2 separate regions of the Homo sapiens genome follow, and region 2 is linked to region 1. The links are contacts of gene promoters, found by promoter capture Hi-C in human tissues and cell types (Jung and others, 2019). All regions are on one chromosome and are shown on one strand. The core of a region is centred on a gene start or on the middle of the fragment in contact, and the rest is flanking DNA. Distances in the headings are between cores, read along the strand shown.

Region 1 (5,830 bases), core at 549-3,048:
TAAAAATAAAGATAACAAAATAGCCAGGCACGGTGGCTCACGCCTGTAATCCCGGCACTTTGAGAGGCCGAGGTGGGTGGATCACCTGACGTGAGGAGTTCAAGACCAGCCTGGCCAACATGGTGAAACCCCATCTCTACTAAAACTACAAAAATTAGCCAGGCGTGGTGGTGGGCATTTGTAATCCCAGCTACTCAGGAGGCTGAGACAGGAGAATCGCTTGAACCCGGGAGGCGGAGGTTGCTGTGAGCCGAGATGATGCCACTGCACTCCTGCCTGGCGACAGAGCGAGACTCCGTCTCAAAAATAAAATAAAATATAATAAACAAATTATATTTTCACATCCCTCACTGGGCAGCCCTCCCAGCTTGTCTCAAACTAGTTTTCTTAACTCTTTTTTCCAGACGGAGTCTCGCACTGTCACCCGAACTGGAGTGCAATAGCACTATCTCGGCTCACCGCAACCTCTGCCTCCCGGGTTCGAGTGATTCCCCTGCCTCAGCTTCCCAAGCAGCTGGGATTACAGGCGCCCGCCACCACACCCGGCTGATTTTTTGTATTTTTAGTAGAGACGGGATTTCACTACGTTGGCTAGGCTGGTCTCCAACTTCTGACCTCGTGATCCGCCCGCCTCGGCCTCCCAAAGTGCTGGGATTACAGACATGAGCCACTGCACCCGGCCTTTTCTCAACTCGTTAAAGCACATTAGTGCCAACTGTGTTATAAGGCAACATGAGTTAGCTATGTTCAGAAAATATTTTAATAGATTGGCCCTCCATCCTTTCGGGTGAGGAGCTGCAAACCGTTTGTAAAAACGCCGGAGTACGGTATTTTTCCTACAGAAGTCTGATGGCTAATTTATCACATTACAGAACTGGTAGTTCTGCACATGGTCTGCTGTGCCCATAAAGAAAGCACATATGTGTCTACTGAGGTTTTACAAACAATACGCTTCTTATCTTAACAGAGAAATCAGTCATTCCATTAACAACGGTAAGGTCTAAATTCCACTAACATTGTTGGTGATACATTAACATCAACATAGTACTTACAATTCACAATTTGCATAAACAATCTCAATTACATAGGTGATGCTTGCAATAGCCCGTTTGAAGCATGACATCTTCCTGGTGTTCAGAAAGGTTAAGTGGGACCTGCCCAAGGTTACCTAACAGCTTTATCAATGGTGGACTTCCTTTCGAACCTGCCTGACTCTAAGCCCCTAGCTCTTTTCCCTAGACCCCTCCCGGCTTTCAAAAGAGGGTTCCCGACTCCCATCCTCTACCCAGAGCAGCCTATTACTCCGGGAGACCGACCCTTCCCCTGCCTGGTTCAGAGGTGGCTTCTTAAGCTCCAGCAGAGCTTTCATCCTCCACCACCCTCCCCCCGCAATCATTCTCTGAAAGAAGCGGAAAGGAGAGGCGACCAAAAGCTCCTGGAGGAAGGGATGATACAAATGGGCTGCTTCACTCCACAGCACGCAACCCCGTCCCCCTCCACCAAGCTGTCCAGCTCTGCGGCCGGCGACCGGGCCACCCGTGCCCCAAATTCTCCCATCATCACCTCAAACTGTACCTCCCCCACGCCCTTCCGTCTCCCACAGTCAGAGCCCACCCCACAAAGTCATGTATCCTTCCGCTAAGTTACCCTCTTCCCACGCGTTGTCCACTCCCCCTCCACCACTACTCACGGTCGGTGACTGGGCCCGGCCCTCATGGCTGCTCCTTTGCCGCCCGCCGCCCGCCGCCACCACTTCTCCACTGCCCGGCCCCTCAGTCACCGGCGCAGCTGTGGGGACTACCCGGAGCCGCTCCTGCGCCTGCGCAGCGTGTAGCGCCTGGGCCCTTTCGGGCCGCACGCGCCTGCGCAGCCCCTGCCGGGGGCGTCTTCCTCAGTGCCTGATGGTCTGGACCCCTGGGTCTCTAGTGGACATGGGAGCTGGCCTTGAAGAATTCTGAGGCTTAGAGAATTTGGCGGCTGCCTCAGGGTACGCCTCTGGAGTACCGTGCCTAGGTTACTAAACCCTTGGATCGCGCTTCCCCAAGGAGCCACAGACTTACTGGCTCTTCCAGAATTCTGCATCCTACTTGCACTTAAAGGCCTGAATTCAGGTGCTCTGAGGTGACCACTGATGATAAATTTGGGTCTTTTTTTTTTTTTTTCTGAGTCGAAGTTTCGCTCTTGTTGTCCAGGTTGGAGTGCAATGGCGTGATCTCGGCTCAAACAACCTCCGCCTCCCGGGTTCAAGCGATTCTCCTGCCTCAGCCTCCCGAGTAGCTGGGATTACAGGCATGCACCACCACGCCCAGCTAATTTTGTATTTTTAGTAGAGACGGGGTTTTATCATGTTGGTCAGGCTGGTCTCGAACTCCCGACCTCAGGTGATCCACCCACCTCAGCCTTCTAAAGCGCTGGGATTACAAGCATGAGCCACCGCGCCCAGCCTGGGTCTTTTTTTTTTTTTTTTTTTTTTGAGACGGAGTTTTGCTCTTGTTGCCCAGGCTGGAGTGCAGTGGCGCGATCTCAGCTCACTGCAACCTCCGCCTCCCGGGTTCAAACGATTCTCCTGCCTCAGCCTCCTGACTAGCTGGGATTACAGGCTTGCACCACCACGCCTGGCTAACTTTTGTATTTTTAGTAGAGACGGGGTTTCACCATGTTGGCCAGGCTGGTCTCGAACTCCTGACCTCAGATGATTCGCCCGCCCCGGCCTCCCAAAGTGCTGGGATTACAGGCCTGAGTCACCATGCCTGGTAAAATTTGGGTCTCTTTCAAGATGATCGTGTCTAGAATGTATCGGGGGTAATTATGTAAAGGCAGCTTTGCCATCCTAGAATACGCTACTAGCTAGGAGGTGCAATGAAGTCCTGGGGACCTTGTCAAGGAGGTGACCTCGCCTAGAATGCACTGGGGACACCGCTAAGTTCAGTATGTTTATCAAGCACATGCTGTTTATTGGACAGAAATGTTCTAGGCATCGCGTGTATGCTATTGAGGAATTCGCAGGCAAATAGTCCCCTGCTTTCCAGCTCTCACTGTGAGCCTGGCCCTTTTTCAAACTGGTAAAAGAAAACCACTAAAGTCCAGTGAGGCCCAACTGTCAGTCCCTAGACTACTGTGCTGCTTTGGCATAGCCTGACAAGAGACTAAGCTCAATCGAGTCCTGAGAATTCAACAAAACAGACTTGAAAGCAGCAGGCAAGAGGAGGTACAGGACTAAACTCTCTCCTCATCACCATGGCTCTTTTTTCTCTCTCAACTCCAGCGCTGGTCTCCTCTCTTCAGAGTTTGGACACATAAGGCCCAAGATACAACGTAAGGGGGAAAAAGAGAAGAAAAAAAGACAAGTTGAGTGCTCAATGAGGAATGTTAAAAAAATTTAAATAGGCCAGGTGCAGTGGCTCACGCCTGTAATCCCAGCACTTTGGGAGGCCGAGGCGGGCGGATCATGAGGTCAGGAGATCGAGACCATCCTGGCTAACACGGTGAAACCCCGTCTCACTAAAAATACAAAAAATTAGCCGGGCGTGGTGGCGGGCGCCTGTAGTCCCAGCTACTCAGGAGGCTGAGGCAAGAGAATGGCGTGAACCCGGGAGGCGGAGCTTGCAGTGAGCCGAGATCAAGCCACTGCATTCCAGCCTGGGCGACAGAGCGAGACTCCGTCTCAAAAGAAAAAAAAATTAAAAATAAAGCTGGGCATAGTGACTTATGCTTGTAATCCCAACATTTTGGGAGGCCAGGTTGGGAGGATTGCTTGAGCCCAGGAGTTAGAGACCAGCCTGGGCAACATAGGGAGACTCATCTCTACAAAAAATCTAAAAAATAGTGGCCAGGCAAGATAGCTCATGCCTGTAAACCCAGCACTTTGGGAGGTTAAGGCGGGCGGATCACTTGAAGCCAGGAATTCGAGACCAGCCTGGCCAACACGGTGAAACCCTGTCTCTACTGAAAAAATACAAAAATTATCTGGGCATGGTGGCATGCACCTGTAGTCCCAGCTACTCAGGAGGCTGAGGCAGGAAAATCGCTTGAACCCAGGAACGGAGGTTACAATGAGCCGAGATCGCACCACTGCACTCCAGCCTGGATAACAGAGTGAGACTCCATCTCAATTAAAAAAATAAATAGGGCCGGGCGCGGTGGCTCAGGCCTGTAATCCCAGCACTTTGGGAGGTCGAGGTGGGCGGATCACGAGGTCAGGAAATCGAGACCATCCTGGCTAACACGGTGAAACCTCATCTCTACTAAAAATATAAAAAATTAGCCGGGCATGGTGGCGGGCCCCTGCAGTCCCAGCTACTTGGGAGGCTGAGGCGGGAGAATGGCGTGAAGCCCGGAGGCAGAGCTTGCAGTGAGCCAAGACGGTGCCACTGCACTCCAGCCTGGGGACAGAGCGAGACTCCATCTCAAAAAAAAAAAATACAAAAATACAAAAAAATTGGCTGGGCGTGGTGGTGGGCGCCTGTAGTCCCAGCTACACGGGAGGCCGAGGCAGGAGAATGGCATGAACTGGGAAGCGGAGCTTGCAGTGAGCCGAGATCGCGCCACTGCACTCCAGCCTTGGCGACAGAGCGAGACTCTGTCTCAAAAAAAAAAGGAAAAAAAGAAAAAATAAATAAATAGGCCAGGCACAGTGGGTCACACCTGTAATCCCAGCACTTTGGGAAGCCGAGGTGGGCAGATCATAAGGTCAGGAGATCGAGACCATTCTGGCTAACACGGTGAAACCCCATCTCTACTAAAAATACAAAAAATTAGCCGGGCATGGTGGCGGGTGCCTGTAGTCCCAGCTACTTGGGGGGCTGAGGTGGGACAATCAATTGAACCCGGGAGGTGGAGGTTGTAGTGAGCCAAGATTGCGCCACTGCAATCCAGCCTGGGTGACAGAGCAAGGCTCCATCTCAAAAAGAAAAATAAATAAATAAATAAGGGTTGGGCCTGGTGGCTCACGCCTGTAATCTCAGCACTTTGGGAGGCCAAGGCGGGTGGATCACGAGGTCAGGAGATCGAGACCATCCTGGCTAACACGGTGAAACCCCGTCTCTACTAAAAATACAAAAAATTAGCTGGGCATGGTGGCGGGCGCCTGTAGTCCCAGGTACACAGGAGGCTGAGGCAGGAGAACGGCGTGAACCCAGGAGGTGGAGGTTGCAGTGAGCCGAGACCATGCCACTGCACTCCAGCCTGGGCGACAGAGCAAGACTCCATCTCAAAAAAAAAAAAAAAAATTAGCTGGATGTGGTGGTGCACACCTGTGGTCCCACCTACTTGGGAGGCTGAGGTGGGAGAATCACTTGAACCCAGGAGGCAGAGGTTGCAGTGAGCCTAGACTACACTACACCGCAGCCTAAGGAACCGAGTGAGACTGTGTCTCAAAAAAATTTTTTTAATTAAAAAAAAAATGTTCAGGCCAGGTACGGTGACTCACGCCTGTAATGTCATCACTTTGGGAGGTGGAGTAGGCGGAGTTTGAGACCAAGCTGGGCCACATGGTGAAAACCCGTCTGTACAAAAAAATTACCAAAAAATTAGCCGGGTGTGGTGGCCCGCATCTGTAGTCCCAGCTACTTGGGAGGCTGAAGAGCGAGGATTGCTTGGGTCTGGGAGGCGGAGGTTGCAGTGAGATTCAACCATTGCACTCCAGCCTAGGGGAGCCAGACTCCATCTCAGTAAGAATAAAATTTTCCTCTTAAAAAAGAAAAGAAAATCCTCTATTAACCCCACAGCCCTCTCCTGCTCAATATTGGTCCTCAATATCCAAGGGTTCAGCATCTAGGAATTCAACCATCCGAAGAACAAAAATATCTGGGGAAAGGCCAAACGTGGTGTC
Region 2 (5,823 bases), core at 437-2,936, 36 kb before region 1:
CTGAGATGGGAAGACTGCCTGAGCCCAAGGGGTGGAGACTGCAGTGAGCCGTGATCACACTATATTCGAACCTGGATGACACAGTGAGAACCTGTCTCAAAAAAAAAAAGAAAGAAAGAGAAACACAAAAAAGTGGGATCTCTGTCTCAAAACAAAACTAAGTGTAATACAGGTTCTTGGCTATCTTGCCTACTGCTTAGTTGAATGACCAAAGAAAAAAACAAATTTTTCAGTAGTCTGTATGCCTAGAAAACCTCAGTTAAAAACCAGAGGAAGTTAAAGCTGTTGCCTAAAAATGTGCCCTTGAGGCAGGGCACGGTGGGTCACGCCTGTAATCCCAGCACTTTGGGAGGTGGAGGTGGGCGTATCACCTGAGGTCGGGAGTTCGAGACCAGCCTGACCAACATGGAGAAACCCCATCTCTACTAAAAATACAAAATTAGCTGGGCACATGGTGCATGTGGTGGCACATTCCTATAATCCCAGCTACTTGGGAGGCTGAGACAGGAGAATCGCTTGAACCTGGGAGGTGGACATTGCAGTGAGCCGAGATCGCGCCATTGCACTCCAACCTAGGCAACAAGAGTGAAACTCCAACTAAAAAAAAAAAAAGTGTCCTTGAGAATATCTTTGGATTGATTTCACCTGTCTATACTTTGCCTGCTTGCCCTTTTGTGTGTATAATCAATAACAGACTTTTCAAAGATCAGGAATGAACTTTTGTTTTTTCCACTTTTTGGTCTCTGTGAATCTAAGGAATGAACTCTTAACTAGAGTCTTGTCCATATCTTGGTAAAGATGCCCTCTGCCCTTTTCAGTTAGGCCGCAATGTAACAAACTCAGTCCATGACTGAATTTAATCTAACCAGCCCAGTATTTCCTTCCTGGGATCCACCAGCACCAAATATAATAAAACTTCAATTTGGAAGTCGGGCACCACGGTGCACACCTGTAGTCCCTTCGGTGGCTGGGTCAGGAGTACTGCTTGAGTCCGGGAGTTCAAGGCCAGCCTGGGCAATATAATTGGGACGGCACCCTGTCTCAAAACAAAACAAAATAAAATCACCTTCAAGTTGGTCTTTTCTTAACAACTTTATTTTTTCTTTCTCCAATACCTCATCTTGAGCATTCTTCTTTTGATTAATAATAGCATACTGGTGTTTGGATCCCCTTCACAACCAGAAAGATAAAAAAAGCCTCTCAGGGTAGATATAGGAAAACTTCAAATCATTTCAAATAGGGTTCCTGAAATTTCTTGGAGAAAATAATAAGCTATATTAGAAATTCAGAGAAAGGAAGAATTCAGAGACCTTGGCTCTCGGTCTGGCTTCACTACCAAATCACTTAAGTTATTTAGATAATCACAGGCCATTAGTTTTCCCTACTTCAGAGAAATGCTGAGACCGATGTTCATTTAATTCACTGGATAAAAACTATCCAAAAGTAAGACTATTTATCTTTTTTTATCTTTTTTTTTTTTTAGATGGAATTTCGTTCCTGTTGCCCAGGCTGGAGTGCAATGGCACAATCTCGGCTCACTGCAACCTCTACCTCCTGGGTTCAAGCGATTCTCCTGCCTGGGCTTCCCAAGTAGCTGGGATTATAGGCACGCACCACCACACCCAGCTAATTTTTGTATTTTTAATAGAGATGGGGTTTCTCCATGTTGGTCAAGCTGGTCTTGAACTCCCGAACTCAGGTGATCCGCCTGCCTCAGCTTCCCAAAGTCCTGGGATTACAGGCGTGAGCCACCGCGCCTGGCAAATATTTATCTTAATACTGGAAATGATTCTTGGGCTGAAGAAACGCTTGTTTTTGTGTGTGTGTTTTTTTGTTTGTTTGTTTTGCTTTTATGTGGAGTCTCACTCTGTCACCCAGGCTGGAGTGCAGTCCAACGATCTCAGCTCACTGCAACCCCCACTTCCTGGGTTCAAGCAATTCTCCTGCCTCAGCCTCCTGAGTAGCTGGAATTACAGGCCTGTGCCACCATGCCCAGCTAATTTTCATATTTTTAGTAGAGATGAGGTTTCACCATGTTGGTCAGGCTGGTCTTGAACTCCTGGCCTCAAGTGATCCGTCCGCCTCAGCCTCCTGAAGTGTTGGGATTACAAGCATGAGTCACCACATCTGGCCCAAACTCTTGTCTTAACCTTTTGTGAGACGTTTTATGTATTTACAGATCATGAAATCTCTAATGAAGTAAACTTCTAAGATCTGACTAAACAAAAGGACCATCAAGTGTTCACAGAATGCTAACATATAGAACAAAGTTTAAAGAAGATACAAAGGCCTGGACTCTAAAAAATAAATGAACAATTCAAATGTCTGGTTTAAAACAAACAAAAAGATGGATTAAAAGTTTGTATCGGAAAGGTAACTTTGTTTTGAATGGTTTTGACAATCTCATACCTCCTGCAGTATCAAATACAGTCTGGGTAATTAATTCAGTGGACTCTTTCCCTTTTACTGCCAGACTGAACAGCTCTGAGGATAATCTCCCTCACTCTCCCAGGGCTCAGTTGGAAGATTCATTATTTATGCCCTCAATTGTTTACTCTGTCCTATTTTTCCACACGTCCAGCAGGCCCAAGAGCTGTGTTACCACTGGCCTGTTTCCAAAATGAATGCATTACTCATTGCCCTATTAGTTACAAAACCAAAATAATCAAACACAGTGGTGTCTTAACGTTGGAAAGCAACCCCACCAACCATTTGATCTAGGAGAGAAATTAATAACAATGCCAGCCCAGGTTACCAAAAGCTAAATTGTCCTGGATGAAGAGAGAACCATACATCATTCCAGTCCTTTATTTTGAGCCACTGAACAACACACATGCATATCCAACAAGGATTCTTAAAGGACAGTATCATTAGAAAGACAGCTCTGGCCTTCACTGAGAACAGACTGTAAACTACTAAGGGTTAAACTGATTGAGAGAAAATTTGCCTAAGCAACCATTCTTTAGGAAGAGTTCAGTAACTCACCAACAATAAATTCTACATCCTCATCTGAGTGGTAAACAGATTACAGACTCCATCAAGTCCTCTACTTTCAGGATTCAGACTCATAGCAAACAACTTCCTCAAAAGATTCAGCTTCCAAGAGTCAAACCCTGGGGGAGGGGATTGTGCTTAAACACACAAAATATTGTCTCTGACACCTGACTGAAAAAGCTGAAAAGCTAAAAACTACCATCACCCACATCTCCATATGAATGCATCCATTGTTCTAAATAAGTCTCTGACAATTGACAGAGCATTCTCAGAGTCTCCTGTGCCTCTAATATTTTCTCACCTAGAGTAAGCTTTTCCCAATTCCAAACCTTACAACACTCAAGCTGATTATTCTGAGAATCAAGCAATGCCAAGGGCCCAATATTTTTCTTTCACCTTCTCAAGGGGATCATTTTATACTTCTGATGTGAACAGGGGATTAGTCTCGAGTCTCCCTTTAGAGAGAACATAGAGTCCTTTTTCTTAACACATTCCAAGCCGTGACTCACAGAAATAAGCAGGATGGGCCGGGCACGGTGGCTCATGCCTGTAATCCCAGCACTGTGGAAGGCCGAGGCAGGTGGACCATCTGAGGTCAGTTTGAGACCACCCTGGCCAACATGGTGAAACCCTGTCTCTACTGAAAATACAAAAATTAGCCAGGCGTGCTGGTGCGTGTCTGTAGTCCCAGCTACTCAGGAGGCTGAGGCAGGAGAACTGCTTGAACCTGGGAAGCAGAGGCTGCAGTGAGCAGAGAGATTGTGCCACTGCATTCCAGCCTGGGTGACAGAGCGAGACTCCGTCTCAAAAAAAAAAAAAAAAAGAGAGAGAGAGAGAAATGAAATAAGCAGGTTGGATAAAAACAGACTGCTAAAGAAAATTAAATCAACTGCTTTAACCTCAACCAGCACTATGCCCCCTCAACCTAAGAGATTATGGCTTTCTATAATTGTTTCCTTGCAGATGACCAAATTCCAGGATTTCCATGCCCCTTAAATGATATTTGAACATCAGTGCAAATACATTTATGATTAGTTCTATACATAGTCTTCTGTCTCCTGGGAAAATTCTTTCACGAACCCCTAATTATTGCACCATGCAAAACAGTGATCACACAAATCAGTCAAAAAAATAGAAATATCGGGCGTGGAGGGGTGCAGTGGCTCACACCTTAATCCCAACACTTTGGGAGGCCTCTGGGAGGGCTGCTTGAGGCCAGGAGTTTGAGACCAACCTGGGCAACAGAGCCAGACCCTATTCTCTACAAAACATAAAAATTAAAAAATAGTAATATAAAAAAGTGAGTGAAGTATAACTTTATAAAGCTGTACTTACTGCTCACCCATGGGTAGAGAACATAAAAACCACCCAGATATCAAATAGAAGGGCAAACTTGTTTTTTGACAGAAGCAAGTTGAAATTGTACAGCCTCCAACTGGTTTTTTTTTGTTTTTGTTTTTGTTTTTTTGAGACAGGGTCTCACTGTGTCACCCAGGTTGGAGTGCAGTGGTACAACCTTGGCTCACTGCAACCTCTGCCTCCCGGGTTCCAGCAATTCTCCCACCTCAGCCTCCCAAGCAGCTGGGACTACAGGAGTGCACCACCACGCCCAGCTAATTTTTTTATGTTTTGGTAGAGACGGGGTTTTCACCATGTTGGTCTTTAACTTCTGACTTCAAGTGATCCACCCACCTCAGCCTCCCAAAGTGCTGGGATTACAGGAGCAAGCCATTGCACCCCGCCTTCCAACTGGTTTTTTTGGTCACTTCCCCAGCTTCCTATACCTTAGATATCAAAGTGCACTTTGTTTTATATACTAGCTAACTCTGTTTTATATACTAGCTAACTTTGTTTTATATACTAGCTAACTTTGTTTTACATACTAGCTAACTCTGTTTTATATACTAGCTAACTTTGTTTTATATACTAGCTAACTTTGTTTTATATACTAGCTAACTTTGTTTTATATACTAGCTAACTCTGTTTTATATACTAGCTAACTGTAAAGGCTTCAATCAGTGATTTTTAACAGTTCACTCTCAGTAGCAAGTTAACTAGTCAACATCTGGGGGATCCCCTTTCCCTCCCAATTTAAATACAACTCATGGAGCCTTAAGGGACAAGTGAGTAATAAAAACCCAAAACCTGACACAGGATTACTGTGAATCTACTTTTTAGTAACATGTCTATTCTAAGGTATTTGAAATCTTCTTTTTAAAAAAGGTAAAGTAAGCTTCGTAATCCCTATTACTTTCCACAGCTGAAATGGTTTCCTATCCCATTATCCCTATTTTTTATAATACTTGCTTTCATCCCAAATTGCTCCTAATTGTCTAGAGATCTAATAAATCAATGCAAAGAAAAAAATCACTAATCTAGCCAAAAGTGTAAGACAGCTCCAGTGTATCAATTCTGTCTTCAAAAGTGGACCCCAGTTACAACAATCGTGGGAAACTGAACCTGTATTACATAAACTCTGAACCATTTTAATTAATATTTATCAAAGTGTTGCCAAAAAAAAAAATATTCATCCCTTTTGGTACTGTAGCTCTTTGCTAATCAACATTAAGATAAACCTGCTCCAAACACGTTTCGTTGAAAATGCCCATTTAGGCCAGGCGCGGTGGCTCACGCCTGTAATCCCAGCACTTTGGGAGGCCGAGGCGGGTGGATCACGAGGTCAGGATATCAAGACCATCCTGGCTAACACGGTGAAACCCGGTCACTACTAAAAATACAAAAAATTAGCCAGGTGTGGTGGCAGGCGCCTGTAATCCCAGCTACTCAGGAGGCTAAGACAGGGGAATCGCTTGAACCCTGGAGGCAGAG

Evidence for each region. The method cuts DNA at HindIII sites, captures the fragments that hold promoters and counts their contacts. A contact is called where the count stands out against the background at its distance.
Region 2: a contact is called between a fragment that was not itself captured here and the fragment with the promoter of FAM222B in region 1, in 1 of the 25 tissues and cell types used here (adrenal gland).

Annotation. Positions count from the first base shown.
Region 1 is chr17:28,840,992-28,846,821 of GRCh38, forward strand. It overlaps FAM222B (family with sequence similarity 222 member B), which reads right to left and starts at 1,799. Exons shown (of 3, transcript NM_001077498.3): 1 at 1,691-1,799. RefSeq lists an enhancer at 1,378-1,892 and a silencer at 1,578-1,767. The HindIII fragment of the contact is 21,274 bases long and covers 1-5,830 here.
Region 2 is chr17:28,805,553-28,811,375 of GRCh38, forward strand. All of the region lies in intron 1 of FAM222B (family with sequence similarity 222 member B), which reads right to left. Among named protein-coding and RNA genes, the nearest start is that of FAM222B, 34 kb to the right of the region's middle. RefSeq lists an enhancer at 3,189-4,130. The HindIII fragment of the contact is 5,160 bases long and covers 1-4,266 here.